Regions from separate parts of the Homo sapiens genome. Here region 2 is linked to region 1. The links are contacts of gene promoters, found by promoter capture Hi-C in human tissues and cell types (Jung and others, 2019). All regions are on one chromosome and are shown on one strand. Each heading gives the region's core, a stretch centred on a gene start or on the middle of the fragment in contact. The rest is flanking DNA. Distances are from core to core; before and after follow the strand shown.

Region 1 (7,902 bases), core at 1,492-3,991:
AGGAGGATCCAGGCCCAAAGACAGTCAGACAGACCTGGACTTTTCCTCATCGCGGGCTGGAGCAGCTGAAAAGTAGAATAAGTAGAGATCAATGTCTCTAGCAAGAAACATCAGGTTATAACCACCAGGGCTGACTGAGGCAGTTTAGATGAATGCTTTGAAGTCAGGAAATGACCTCACTGGGATATGACACCTCATTGGAAGCAATGGAAACCTGGACCATCCATTCTCCACTTTCCCTTCCATTTCTCCATTCAGAAATATATCAGTGTCCTTATTCTCCTGTAAAAGAATACAAGCTGAAACGCTTTCAGGTGACAGTATTGCTCAACATAAAAACTGTGAGTTGTTTATCTCTAGGTTTTATATTTAGAATATAGTTTGGTTTATTCTCTTCTTGTTGTTTATCATCTAAATATTTGGACTTTTAAGATTTCAGTTTCCACAGTGAACTGTGCATTAAAATTTTTAAGCTGGTGTCTCTAACAGGAAGAACATATTTAGGGATTGGAGGGGATAGGTTAACATGTTGTGATGGCTGAATTCCTCTTTGAATTCTGCAGGTACCTTGATTTCAGAAGCAACTGTATTTATTTCTATTTAAAAACATAGGAAACACACTGTTGAATGCCGGAGTCGTGCTTTTATTCTGTTCCTGTGACTGCTTTGTTAAACATGCTTCCTAATGTTTCTGTGAAGCTAAAGGACACACTTTATAGTCAAGCCATGTGCTGATCTCTCTCACATACAAACCACACACACACACACACACACACACAAATGCACACAAACATGCCCACACATATCTTTCAAGCCCTCTCAAATTCTGCCAGGTTGCTGCTAGAAAATGTTTCATCTCAAACAGATGGAAGCTGGAGTGCTTTGCTTTGCATGAATAAAGGGATCTTTTTACCTCTTAGGTAAAGTGCAATCAATCACCATCTGATTGTTGAATTTAGACTTGGTAGTGGAATGTTGGAGAACTGGAAGAGTACAGAAAGCTTAGAGAATTAAAAATGTATATAGTCTATGTGTGGAGTCAGTTTTCGAAATTCAATGCACTACCTGGATAAGGAGCAGCTATGGTAACATTTTAATGTGCTGTAATTAATTCCAGTCATAATATAAGGAATGTTCAAAGTATTTAATCTATATTTCTTTGTAGGGTAAGTGATTAATAGACTGCAATCTTTTAAAGCTTCTTTTTCATTAAACCCTCTATAGTTTAATGTGGTATGCCTTTAAATACATCTACAAAATGCTTTCTGCAGTCTCGGGAAATCATTTAAATCACTAAAAACCATTACAAACAGGCTTGTAAGCAATGAAACATAATATGTTTAGAGCGAAATGGTCTAGAGATAAGAACTCTGAGCCTCGTCATAGCTTTTCCTTAATTTAGTAATTTAGTGACTGGTTTTGAAACAGATTAGTTGACTATGACAAGAAATCTTGGATAAATATTATGTTAAAATGCTACATCTAAATTGCAAAATTTTAATTTACCCTTTTACTAATCTTCATCGTTTGTTACAAGGGAAAAACAACTTTTCTTAGCCCTATTAATTTTTGTTGATCTTTTTAAAAAGATTGAATATCTGAATGGGTAAACAAAACACAGCAAAACCATTTGACAAGGCACCATAGATTTTTGCCCTCTTCTGACATTTTTAAAAGAGAAAAACAAACCTATCATGGCACTTCAGTTGTTAAGAAAGTTTCTTGCAAATACAAACATAATAGTTTAAAAGAAAGGCTAAGCTGCAGTCTTACCACTTTCTACCTTCAACCTCCCCCTCCCCCAGACACACGCTCCAAACGTTACCATCCCATGCCATCCATATCAAAGACTAAGTTGAGTTTTCGTGTTCAGAATGGGAGAGACCCCTACACAAGAGGGCATTTCACCAGCGTCCACTGGAAAGGGAAAAACAGGCAATTTTGCAGCCAGGACAAGAGCGTGCCTTCCCTAGGATGATGGAACAGTGAGACAGGTTTTCCGTCCCAGCGTCTTAACTTTAGATGATGGCCCCCGACGCCCCTCCCCAACTCACCCCAGCTCCCCCTTGCAAATAAATAAATAAATAAAAGACCAAAACAACATGCCACCACCCACCCTGCGGAATACATTCAAATATGCCTAAGAAAGAGGAGAAGAAAAGAAGAAAGACAGCGGGAAAAAAATAATAATAATGCTCTTATATTGCTGCGGTTTCACCCTGAAAGAAAAACATTTCGTTGTTTCTACCTGCTGTGGGATCAGGCTCCTGTCCTGCTCGCTCCCTTGCTCGCTCGCTCGCTCTCCTTCTTCTCTCTCTCTCTCTCTCCCCCCGTCTCCCCCCGCCCCCCCCCCCCGACTATAACATTCCTGTCTCTCCAGCTAGGAAAAGCCACGTTCAAAGCTCTGTCTGTGTATCGTGGTCCAAAGTCGCACTTACCTAAGGCCCCCTCTGGACACAGGATCTCTTAAGACCGGGGAAAAGTCTGGGAGAGAGAATCGTGGAGAGACTGGAGCCAGCGCGAGTCTGCGAGTCCGAGTCCGGGCGCGCCAGAGCAGAGGGGCGTCCTCGCTCTGCCTCTCACTCACTTGGTCTGAGCCATCATGGACTCTGCGTGCTCCTTTGCTGAAGATTTCACACCCAAATTTGCTTCCCAATATCCAATCTGCAGCTATACAACAAAAGATTTCTCTTTACCAAGACAGTAGTAATACGTCCCAGGGCAAACCGGATGTGAAATAGGCGGTGACTTCATGCCAGAGAGATTTTATTTTAGAAAGGAAGGTGGTACCAGCCTCTGGATCTGGAGACCAATCCGCCCATTTTTTATATGCAGCACAATTTAACTTGCACCACTCTGGCCCTAATCCCCTTCTCTCTAGCTGCAGGCTCAAATCCTTCTACAATCTGCTGCAAGCTTCTCTTTTTGGGGGGAGCGGCAATGGGGGAGGGAAGGGTAGAAAGGGTGAGAGACATACGGACTGCACTTAGAGTCTTTTCACACTTGCAATTTATGAACACCCGATTTTAAGGTGAGCCCATTAAAAATACAACTATTTAGTGCAACTATTCTACCTTTGATCAAATATTAAACCACTGCCTGCATATGAATGAACGCAAGCTCTGAAACTGGGAGATGCAGGGTTACACGTGTGGGGAGAGCACTCGTCTCGCCTCTCTCCCTCACACACACACTCCCACACATATGTCTAAGTCCCCGTGTCTTGCAGAGTCACGAATGGTGACGGATGGTAGGAAAGAGTTCTGGCAGGTAGGAAATTGGCTACTGGATTTAGAGAGTCTTTCGCACTTTCTCAGGTTGGGAGCGCTTTCCACCCCACCTTCTTCTGTAGCTTAGAGGACAGCAAGAATACCCTCCGGAACCGGGTTTTTACCTTTGGAGGCAACTGTTTGTCTATGTTATCATGGAGAAAACGCAGGCGCTGTTACCTCTGAATTGTGCTGGGTTCCTGGACGAAGAATATTTAACTAATAAATCACTCCGATCATTTCTAGGTTTGAGAATCATATCTCCATTTCCGGAATCATTCCTTTGCCTCGAGCTCCATCATTCTCGGATTAGGAAAATGGGAGAGGGAGAGGAGGAATTTTTAGAAGTCAGGACGAAATCCGCATCTACTTTTCCCCCCCCTTCTCCGGCATCTTCTGTTACCCTCCCTGGTAGCTCTCCACCCACAAATAATTATACACTAGGAAAGGGGGGTGTGTTTCAACATCAGTCTAACTAAATTTCCAAGGAATCAGGGATGACTTGGTTTCCTCCTCGGATTTTGTGAATGGCTGTTTGTAGCAGAGAGGGGATGGGTGCTGTCTTCCTGGGAGCGCTTACTAAGACCTAAAACACTGGGAGCTGTCCCTTCAGCACTTCCGTCCTGTTATGGCAGGAGGTGCTGAAAAGGTGAGGTGCCCCATACAATGTTTCTGGTGGATAAGGTCTGAGCTTTGGTAAGCTCACTGGTCATTTTCTCCTAGTGAGTTCCTAGCAGAGAAGACGTTTCAGATGGGGCGGAGCCTGAGCAAGTGAAGAAAAAAATCTGAGTAGCCAGTCCATAACCACTTTGGGGTTTCTGATTCTACAAGTGCTTCTTGACCTTGTGCAGCAATGCAATCAGCTTAATGATTAAAACTTAAATAAGGTGATTGCAATAATAAGGAATATAAAACTGAAGACCACATTAGGGGTTGGGCTTGGTTACCTTCTGAGTTTTGTGGTCAAGTGTCAACTGGGAAGTGATTTTAGAGATAAACTTTTGGAAGAGAGATTTGAAGATTATGTTAAGATAGCCCTGTTTCTGGGCAGTAGTTAATTGCCTGTTATGTTCAGATATAATAAATGCCAATGTATTCTTAAAGATATTCGCTGAAGAAACATCACAGCTTCCCTATGTGTCATTACCCAATTTTTATTTACTTATCCATTGATTAATTAATTTATTGAGTGGTTTGGAGAATAAAACTGAATTTAATGAGATTTATAATTAATAATGAAATCCTGAGTTAACGATTAGAAAACATTATTCTTTTACTTCATCTACAATGCAATTCCACAGTTTTGTCTTGTTTTAATGAAAGTCAACAGTTATAAAAATCTGAATTTTTAGTGTTCTCCTGGCTAAACTGTTGCAGGTCCTTTTATGATCTTCTACAAATTGAAAATAAATTTATATCCTTTATCTAATGAAACACAACTAAATCACTCTACTGATTTTGGTTTTGCAAACAAATTCACTGAAGCTTCATCATGTGAACAATAGTCTCAGAGCAATGCCAATTACATTCTGCTTCAGATTAAAAAATGTTATGTGACTATGAAACAGGATACAATTGCACAGCGTTTTCAAACATTTAAAGAAATAAATATTAAATAATTTGGGGGCTATAGTGTGTATATGGAAATGGAAATACCTATACTATGATTCTCTCTTTAAAATGTAATACTCACAAGGTAGATTTTACTAGATGATTCTCTATGAATATCAGCTTGTAATATGTATATGCATGTATGTATACATACACACATACATGTAATTTGCTTTAAGACATCTATATTTTTCATAAATTGTGAGTGTTTAAAAATAATGATATTTTAATACTCCAAAACATCAATTGATACTCTAATTATGGGTGTGTTTATTGTGTTCCATCTGATATGTCATTAATATATGCACATACTACCATAAAATATAATAAATTAATGACAAGAAAATACTTTATATTGTGTTTTTATATTCAATATTTTATATAATTTTTGATATTCTTGTGTTTTGTTTTAGCCAGAATGAACCACTTCAAACTATGTGTGCATATAATGATGTCAGTTTTTTTAAATGATAATAACTATGGTGTTTAATATTCTTAGAGTGTTTACTTGGTGCCAAGTAATGTGAAAAGTAATTTTCATAATAATTCAATTTGATTCTCAAAATGAGTCTCTATGAGAGATGGTCTTAATATTTCTGTTATACAAATCATTCAGTAAATTGTAGACTAGAGAGATCAAAAGACTTGCCTAAGGTCACACAGCTAGTGAATATCCACACTAAAATGCAAATCCAAATGCTCTGACTTCAAAGCCTATTCTCTTAACCACACTCCTACATTACTCTCTTTCCTTACTGTGAGACTGTGAGCTCATAGTAAAATCTTTTTCATTCATTTTATATCCATGCTTGACCACCTTTATGTCAGTCACATAAAGCTCATCTCTGAGTATTTATTATTATTTATTCATGGCAAGAGTTTTATTTTGATGATCCAGTACATCCAACTGCAACATAGAATCAGGCTTACTTTAGCGTTTCAGAGATTTAAGCTACTTTTCTTTTGTCTCATGAGGCCGGTGGCCAAGGCCCTCTGAGCAGTTACAAAGTCTTGGCAGAAAGAATTTGAGGTCAAATCTAGAACCAGGGATCCTAGGGATGCCTAATCACTCTATCTCCAGTGCTGCAGTCTGGTACCTTTCGCTTTTACTGTCAATTTTAAATGGCAGGAAGCCCTTACCTAATTGATGAAGTGGTGCTGATTCTATTCAACAGAGAAACGTTTTTACTTTCTTTAACTAAACGTGAACCAAATGAGAAAAAAATAGCAAGAGTGTTCTCATTTATTCAGTGTGTCTTTTTATAGTTTACAAAATAATGTAGGGTGAAGGAAAAGAAATAAGTAAAAATAATAAAATATCAAATAAACTTTCGTTGAAACTCAGAAAAAATTGATCCTTTAAAGTGTATTTGAATGGCTCAGATATCTACAATGAAATTGTGTTTTAGCATTATGCATTATATATATGAATATTTATATGGAATATTTCATTACACTCATTTAAGTAGTCCCACTTTTCTAATCCCTCTGTATATAATACAGACCACCATGTTTAATTGACTATACTAGCATATCCAGAGGGATGTCTCTTCTTTTATAAGTGATATTGAAATAATAGCTCAGTAGGAGTAAAAGAAAATAAAAGTGGTTTAAGTAATAGGTTACATTTTTGTACCTTAATCTAGACATCTTTGTCATCTGGGTTATTTAGGCAAATTATATTTCCCAGGCTGGAAGTCTCGTTTGGTATTTCAGCATACAGAGAAACATGGTAAATATAGCAAAAACAAAATTTATGTATATTTGAGTCATAAGTGTTTGGCACTCTAGTGGAATTTAGAGATTGTTTGCCCCAACCACTTTGACAGGTCACAAAGCTTACGTAAGTTTTCACATGATCTTTACAGAAGTAGAACCCAGGTTAGCATGGCACAATAAATGATTATGCACGAATATATACTTGAAGTCACAGATGTTTCAAAACTGTAAGGCCGTGGGCAGATTGCTGAACTTTTCTGAAGTTTTCAAATGAAGTAATGATATTTTATAAGCTGGTGGTGGCATTACATAGGAAAACAAGTGTGAATCAGATAGCCCTCTTGTGTGACACCTAATAGACATCTAATGAATGCCAATTTTCCTCTCTCTTTTTTCTTGCCATAAAATTATTCTTTTCTCTGCATTTTAGTGCATTATCTACAGCGTGTTTAAATAACTAATAATACTGATAGTACTGTCAACATTTTGCATACTGTCGAAATAAAATTTTCACTTAGACAGGTAGTGGGAAAAGCTAGCTCCTGTGCCATCTTAATCCTAGGCCCATGTTTTTATTTTTAAGATGTTGAGTCGGGGAAATTTTCCTACATGGGCCTTGGGCATAGAGTATTTTACATACACGTTAAACCAGTAACATTTGAAGAGAATATAATACAGGATATAGCCAACCACAGCAAATGTTCGAACCACAGCTAGTACAGTCAACCACAGGCTTCCCAAAAGATACATTTACATTATTTTTCCATAAGATGCAACAAATACTCATCAGGAATAAAAATATGTATGTGAGAATCAGAGTCTATTTAACAGTAATGTAAATAGGGCACTATCCAATTTTCCTCTTTTGGCAGTTTTCAGTTTATCAGCAACTCAAATGTAACCCAGATTCACCCATTTTCTTTCAAAGACTTTTCTTTTCACAGATGTCTAACCCATCAACCCAAGAAGGTAAATGCAGATTTATTCAGAGTTAGGAAAAATGATAATAAGCTGATGATTAGAAACAATTATTTATTTTAAAAGTTCAAATAATATATAAATTATTTTTGAAATCCTTGAAGAAGAATTTTTTGACTCTCCAAATAAAATTGGTAACACGATGACTAATGTAAGTCAGAAGGGAGGTAAGAAAATAAATATAATTTATTAAAATGCTGTCACAACTCTCTAGATTAAATACTTTAAAATGCTGTATCCTATATAACTTGATTGAGGAAACATGCAATTAAAAAAAATTTATAGCTAAAATCAGGCATTCAGGATGTTTATGTGTCTCCTTTGG
Region 2 (7,902 bases), core at 3,490-5,989, 1.5 Mb before region 1:
ACAGTATACATAGAGTATCTATAAAAAAAGAAACTAGACTTCTATATCTCATGATATTAAAAAAATCCTCAAAATGTATGAAAGAATTAAACATAAAACCTAAATTGATAAAATTACTAGAAGAAAACAGGAAAATACTCCAGAACGTTGGTCTAGGTAAAGATTTTGAGGCAAGCCCTCAAAAGCACAGACAGCAAAACAAGAAATAGACAAACGGGACTATATTAAATTAAAAAGCTTCTACATAGCAAAGGAATCAATCAACAGAGTAAAGAGACAACTTACAAAATGAGACAAAATACTTGCAAAATATTTATCAACAAAAGAATCATATCCAGAATGTATGAGGAACTCAAACAACTAAACAGCAAAAATACAGATAATCCCATTAAAAAGTGGGCAAAAAATCTAAATAGACATTTCTCCAAAGAAGACATATAAATGACCAACAGGTATATAAAAAAATTGCTCAACATCACTAATTATCAGAGAAATGCAAATCAAAACCACATGGAGAAACCATCTTACCCCAGTCAGATTGGCTATTACCAAAAAGACAAAAAATACCAAATGCTGGCTAAGATGTGAAGAAAAGGAAATGCTTACACACTGTTGGTGGGAATGTAAATTAGTACAGTCATTATGGAAACAGTATGGTGATTTCTTAAAAAACTAAAAATAGAACCACTACAGGATCTAGCAATCCCACTGTTGAGTATTTATCCAAAGGAGAAGAAGCCAATATATTAAAGGGGTACATGTATTCCTATATTTATTGCAGCACTATTCACAGTAGCCAAGATATGGAATCAACAGTTCCATCAGCAATTCAACAGATAAAGAAAATGTGGTATATATACAAAATGTAATACTATTTGGCCATCAAAAGTAATAAAATCATCTCATTTGCAGCCACATGGATGGAACTAGAGGTTATTATGCTAAGTGAAATAAGCCAGGCACAGGAAGACAAATATTGCATGTTCTTACTCATGTGTGGAAGCTATAAAAGTGACTCTCATGGAGTAGAGAATAGAGTGGTAATTACCAGAGACTGCAAAGCATGGTAGAAAGATACAGAGAGGTTGGTTAATGGGTATAAATATACAGTTAGATAGAAGGAATACATTCTCATATTTAATAGCTCAGTAGGATGACTATAGTTTTAACAATAATTTTTTGAATTTCAAAATAGCAAGAAAAGATTTGAAATGTTCCCAACACAAATAAATAATAAATGTTGGAGTTGAAGGATATCCTAAATATCTTGATGTGATTATTATACATTTTATATATGTATCAAAATATCACATGAGTAGCAGAATTATTTACACTCATTATGTAATAATTAGAAAAAAGAAGAGGATGAGGTAGAGGACACAGACACATAAGGAGGAAGAAGGCCATGTGGCCAAGGCTGTAGAAGCCCGCTTCTGGCATCAGCGAACATGACCTGGATGTGAGACATGGAGTCAAAGAAGATCATTTTGGGACTTTAAGGTTTAATGACTGCCCTATTGTATTTTGGACTTTCATGGGGCCTGTAACCCCTTTGTTTTGGCCAATTTCTCCCATTTGGAATGGGAGCATTTAGCCAATGCCTGTACCCCCATTGTGTCTAGGAAGTAAGTAACTTGCTTTTGATTTTGCAGGCTCATAGGCAGAAGAGACTTGCCTTGTCTCAGATGAGGCTTTGGACTTGGACTTTTGAGTTAATGCTGGAATGAGTTAAGACTTTGGGGGATTGTTGGAAAGGCATGATTGTGTTTTGAAATGTGAGGACATGTGATTTGGGAGGGGTCAAGGGTGGAAAGATAAGGTTTGGCTGTGTCCCCACTCAAACCCCATCCTGAATTGTAGTTCCCATAATCTCCGCATGTTGTGGGAGAGACCCAGTGCAAGGTAATTGAATCATGGGGGCCGTTACCCTCATGCTGTGCTCGTGATAGTGAGTGAGTTCTCACAAGATCTGATGGTTTCATAAGCAGCTTTTCCCCTTTTTTGCTGGGCACTTCTCCTTGTTGCCACTATGTGAAGAAGGACATGTTTGCTTCCCCTTTCACCATGATTGTAAGTCTCCTTAAGTCCCCTGAGGCCTCCCCCAGCCATGCTGAACTGTGAGTCAATTAAACTGCCTTCCTTTATAAATTGCCCAGTCTTGGGTATGTCTTTATTAGCAGCATGAGAAGGGACTAATACACCATGTGAAGATAAAGGCAGAATTGGAATTAAGATGCTGCAAGGAAAACTTGGGGATTTAAAAGCTGAACAAATCATGGAAATGTTTCTTTCCTAGAGCTTATGGTCCCTACTGACCTTGGACTTCTAGCCTCCAGAATTGTGAGAGAATAAATTCCTGTTGTTTTAAGTCCCCCTACCCCCACTCCTCAAAAACAATAAATCAAGGCTTTGACTGACCTGGCTGGTGACCTGGTGCTGTGCTGTAGGAAGAGACAGAAGATTCTCAGCTACAGGAGTAGAGCCGAGGTAGGAGTAGGGAGGTAGTATGAATAGAGAAATTTAGTGGACGTGATTTCAAAGTCAGTAGGTAAGAATGTTTTACTTCTATGTGACTCTCAGGACTATAAAGCAAATTATTTCAGAATGTATTACTTTAATGTGATTCTCAGGAATATAAAGGAAAATAAAAAATTAAAAATGTTGGATGACTGCCATTTTTCTTCGAGACAGGGTCTCCCTTTGTTGCCCAAGCTGTACTTGAACTCCTGGGCTCAACTGATACCCCTGCCTCACCCTCCCAAGTAGCTGGGACTATAGGTACATGCCACGGTGCCTGGCTCTCCTGTGATGTTTAAATGTAATATCACTTGATGCAATATATTTGTAGTTGTAAATGAAACTTTACTCCTTAAAGTAAGGAGGACACTTGACTCCTTAAAGTTCATATAATTTCCACTGGACACTATTTTGCTGTTAGCTCAAGTGTTCATTTGTTTTAACATATATGGAGGATTAAAGTGTGTCTACAATTATGGAGTTCAAACTGATGTCTAAACTAATATAACTGTGAATACCTTAAATAACAAACACAGTTAAATGCAGCACAATTAGTTAAATAAAATTCCAGTGGCTCAAAAGTATAATGTTGTTGACAGGTCGTTGTCATGGGAATCAGAATTCCTGACATGGATGTTTGACCTGGAGCAGACTACCCAAAGTTTCTTTTTGGTCTCAGCTTCTATATGTAAAATAAAGGTATTGGACGCAAGAACAAACCAAACCAAACCAAAAAAAAAAGAAAAGAAAAAAGGCAATGCGTGAAGAGTCAAATCTCAAAGGAATGGGGCATGCAAAGAGGCAATAGTGAAACCTGAAGTGAAAGGAATGTCAGCCAGATGGATTGGGCAGATTTGGGAGAGTAGAGGGGCTGAAATTTAAAAGATTCCTGAAGCTTTGAACTTTTATTTCTGCTGAGAACACATGCACCTCAATGCCTTTTCCAAATGCTCTCCATACCATCTACCTATACAATACAATTTGGCATTTGCCATTTTGAATGCATAGGTTGGCACATGTACCATGCTCTTTGCATTCTTCAGTGAGCTTCTGCAATTGACAAACAGCTACATTTTGTAACAAAAAGATAACAGAGGCAAGAACAGGACCATAGGCTTCTCCTAGAACCCTTGTTTTTTGAATGATGCAATAACCCTGAACCCAATTTTATTTCTGTGCCTGTTAGTGACTCCCAAGGAGGTTGGAATGGCAACAAAGTCCAGACTTTCCAGGCTGAGGGCCAATTGGTAACTGCCTTCACTGCATCCTGCTTTCTTGCTACCTATTGGAGAAACAATTGAATTTCATGATCAGATTGGCCAATGAATAAGTAGCTATGGACCATATAATTCTGCCAAAACTGTACACTGACCTATGGAAAAAGCTGCTTGGAGTCATAGCGTCAGGGATATCAGATTTATAACTCTTCACTAAAGTTCTGATTTATTTTCTTGGCTAGGTGGGAGGCTAATGCATCTGAAACAGAAAAGTTGAAAAACCTTAGTCTCCTAGGCAGGTACTGGATCCCAACCCTACCTGACATATACTATTACAGATAGTAAAGATTGCTACTCTTGCATTTCCAACATTATCTTCCCTTCCCTACCCCCCAGCACTTGCATAAGAGGGAACATGAACCCTCATAGAACTGAGCAGGAGGATTAGGGCAGATAATAAATCTCGGGCTGATTTGGTTAGCAGGCAGTCACAGGTTAGCAGGGGAAAACCTAGCCTTTTTCTGGTCTCTTCTCTATGGACCAGCAAACAGAGTGAAATGGAAGTGTAGTCTTTTTTGGTGAAAGGTGGTCTAAACTCCTCTACTTGAAATCAGGCTTACTTCCCAATGACTAGCCAAAACTGAGGGTTGAGACTGTTATCTGCATAATTTAGGGACCAGGAAGGAATCTAACTTTACTTATAAAACATAGTGGAATTTTGGGCCTGTGTTGTGAAGACAGTACCTTCAATTTCTGATTATTTGGTCTGGAGAGAATAGACTAAACTCTTCGTTAGAGTAAATGTAGGAATAAAAGATTAAAGTTGTTTTCAGAGGGAATGTATTCCGTCTTTCATTTCTTACATGATGTTTCTTGCTTAATGCATTAGTTTCCTTGGGCTGCCATAGCAAAGTACTGTACACTGAGTGGCTTATGCAACAGACATGTATTGTCTCACAGTTCCGGAGGTTGGAAATCCACGATCACATTTTTGGCAGAGTTGATTCCCTCTGAGACTTGAGAGGGAGACTCTCGCCTGGCTTCTGGTGGTTTGTTGGCAATGTTTGCTGTTCCTTGACTTGTAGAATCATCACATTGCTCTCTGCCTGAATTTTCATGTAGTATTCGCTCTCTGTGTCTTGCTGTCTCAAAATTTCCACTTTTTATAAGAACATCAGTCATACTAGATTAGAGCCTACCCTAATGACCTTATCTTAACTTGATTACCTCTGTAAGGGCCCTTTCTCCAAATAAGGTCACATCCTGCAGTTCAGGGGGTTAAGACTTGAACATATGAATTTTTTAGGAAACAAACGTATAACACTTAAATATATTGTATGGATTCCTGATATTCTTACTGAATATATAATTATAAAACCATAATCCTATAGTCTAAATGCCACTGACTTTATTAAAAGAGTCTAGGTGAATACGTTTTTAAAATATATTTTCCTTTTTCTAACTTGAAACGAGAGAGTCAGAATTTATCAATATCTATCCAGCATTGTGTTGAAACTGGGTTGTAATGCTTTTTCCTATCTGGGAAATAGAACTGGATGGACAGCTGGCTTCAGAGTTTGCATGAAGAGTACATAATCCTACTTATGTAACCCATCGTGTTTGCAAAATCTGCACTGCAGTTTTTTAGGAGGGAATGAGATGTTTGGAAATAAAATCTGCTGTGCAGGAGTGGAAAATTTATCCACTTTCCACATTATTTTTGTTGCCTATATTTTTATTTTGCATTCTCAAGAAGTATGTATCCGTGCTTGAATGTTTTGCCTTTGCTGCACATGTCAGGAATGCAGAATTGGTGAATTCTGGTGCAAGATCTATTCATTGACCTTTACATGATAGGAAAGTTGTTTAACTCCTTCAGGATTATGATTTCTTAAGTTTAGAGTCAATTGGCCTCGACTGGGGTTGAATGGGGAAAGGAGGGCATGAGGAATGAATACTTATGCAGCCCTTAAAAGTGTGAGGGTCCATTGTTCACATGGTAAATCTGCAAACAAAGTCAGTCATTATATCCATGTGCTGGACTTTTTTTTTTTTTTTTTTTTTTAAGACAGATTCTAGCTCTGTTGCCCGGGCTAGAGAGCTGTGGCACAATCATAGCTCACTACAACCTTGAACTTCTGGGATCAAGTGATCCTCCCACCTCAGCCACCCAAGTAGCTAGGACTACAGGTGTGCACCACCATGCCCGGCTAATTTTTAATTTTTTGTAGAGAGGGGTCTTGCTATCTTGAACAGGCTGGTCGTAAACTTCTGGCCTCAAGCAGTCTTCCTGCCCTGGCTTCCCAAAGTGTTGAGATTACAGGCATGAGTCACTGCGCCTGGCCTGTTTGGTTTTATTTTTAATCGGCCCTATAATATTTTCATCCTGATTCTGATTTACAGCACTGTTCCTTTATCGTTAGTAGGAACTGTCATTCCTTCATAACTAGTGATTCTGTTGGGACTGTAGATTATATTAACTCAGTTTTTGGGCACTGGCCAATAATATTACCCTATCAGCTGGTAACAATGATTGGTCTAAGGGAGGGGACATGGACAAGTTAGCCAGTCAGAGGCTTTCCCTGGGATTTTACATACTAATAAGGAGGGATTGGGGGAAAGAAACTTTCTTCCTTCCTTCCTTCCTTCCTTCCTCCCTTCCTTCCTTCCTTCCTTCCTTCCTTCCTTCTCCCTCTCCTCCCTCCCTCCCTCCTTTCTGTCCATCCTTCCTCCCTCCCTCCCTCCCTCCCTCCCTTCCTTCCTTCCCTCCTTCCTTCCTTTCTTTTCTTTTCTTTCTTTCTGTTTTTAGATGGAGTCTCACTCTTGTCGCCCAGGCTGGAGTGCAGTGGTGTGATCTCAGCTCACTGCAACCTCCACCTCCCGGGTTCAAGTGATTCTCCAGCCTCAGCCTCCCAAGTAGCTGGGACTACAGGCACATGCCACTGCATCTAGCTAATTTCTGTATTTTCAGTAGAGACGGGATTTCGCCATGTTGGCCAAGCTTGTCTTGAACTCCTGACCTAGGGTGATCTGCCCAATTCGGCCTCCCAAAGTACTGGAATTACAGGCGTGAGCCACTGCACCTGGCGAAACTTTCACTTTTCTTTTCTTCTTCTTCTTTTTTTTTTTTTTTGAGACGGAGTTTTGCTCTTATTGCCCAGGCTGGAGTGCAGTGGTGCGATCTCGGCTCACTGCAACCTTTGCCTCCTGGGTTCAAGCAATTCTCCTGTCTTAGCCTCCTGAGTAGCTGGGACTACAGGTGCCCACCACCACACCCGGCTAATTTTTGTATTTTTTAGTAGAGATGGGGTTTCACTATATTGATCAGGCTGGTCCCGAACTCCTGACCTCAAGTGATCCTCCCGCCTTGGCCTCCGAAAGTGTTGGGATTATAGGCGTGAGCCACCACGCCCAGCCTGTTTATCCTTTAAGACCAGCTGAGATACCACTATCTTTGTGAACTCTTCTCTAATTTGTTTAGTTAACAATGGGTCTCCACCTGTGTCCTATATAGCCCTGTGTCTTAATGACATCTATTCCATTCTGCCTTCTATTGTGTGTTCCAGTGTTGTGTAATAATTCACCCAAAATTAATGGGTTAAGACAAGTACTATTTTATTATCTCATCATCTTCTTGGTTAAAGGTTTGAATAGAACTTAGCTGGGGGCTTGCTCCTCTTCGCCTGTTGTTTGATGGTCACTCAATGGTATTTAGCTGGTCTGATCTAGAAGGTCCAAGACAGCTTCACTCACCTGCCTTGCTCCTTGGGAGGGTTGCTGTTGCTGGTGTATCCTCTCTGTCCTTTTGGGTTTTGTTCTCTTTCCTTTTGGGTTCATGCCTTAAACAATTTCTATCCTGTTATTTTAGCAAGGTTTCTGGAGGGAGCATGTGTTCAATCTAGTATTTTTACCCGGAAGTCCCCAAAACCTAGTTTATAAAGTACTTTCATATTTAGTTTCTATTTTCTCTTTACAAGAGCCTGGTGAGTATTACGCCTCCATCTTTTAAGACAGAAAAGCTGAAACAGACACGTGTTTTGGCAGTCAAGCCTTTTGATTGCAAGGAAAAAAACTCACTCAAGCCAGTGAACGTATATGTGATATTCTAATTTAAAAAAGTATTCTCATCAGCCCCCAGGCTCACGCTTGTGGTCTTTGAGGGTTGCTG

What was found. The method cuts DNA at HindIII sites, captures the fragments that hold promoters and counts their contacts. A contact is called where the count stands out against the background at its distance.
Region 2: a fragment that was not itself captured here is called in contact with the fragment with the promoter of GABRA1 in region 1 in 1 of the 25 tissues and cell types used here (dorsolateral prefrontal cortex).

What each region holds. Positions count from the first base shown.
Region 1 is chr5:161,842,959-161,850,860 of GRCh38, reverse strand. It overlaps GABRA1 (gamma-aminobutyric acid type A receptor subunit alpha1), which reads right to left and starts at 2,741. Exons shown (of 10, transcript NM_001127644.2): 1 at 2,439-2,741; 2 at 1-65. The coding sequence starts at 50. It overlaps LOC105377696 (a long non-coding RNA gene), which reads left to right and starts at 268. Exons shown (of 3, transcript XR_941158.4): 1 at 268-341. The HindIII fragment of the contact is 3,679 bases long and covers 2,058-5,736 here.
Region 2 is chr5:163,382,304-163,390,205 of GRCh38, reverse strand. The region is part of intron 1 of LOC105377700 (a long non-coding RNA gene); the gene reads left to right. Among named protein-coding and RNA genes, the nearest start is that of CCNG1, 51 kb to the left of the region's middle. The HindIII fragment of the contact is 5,828 bases long and covers 1,826-7,653 here.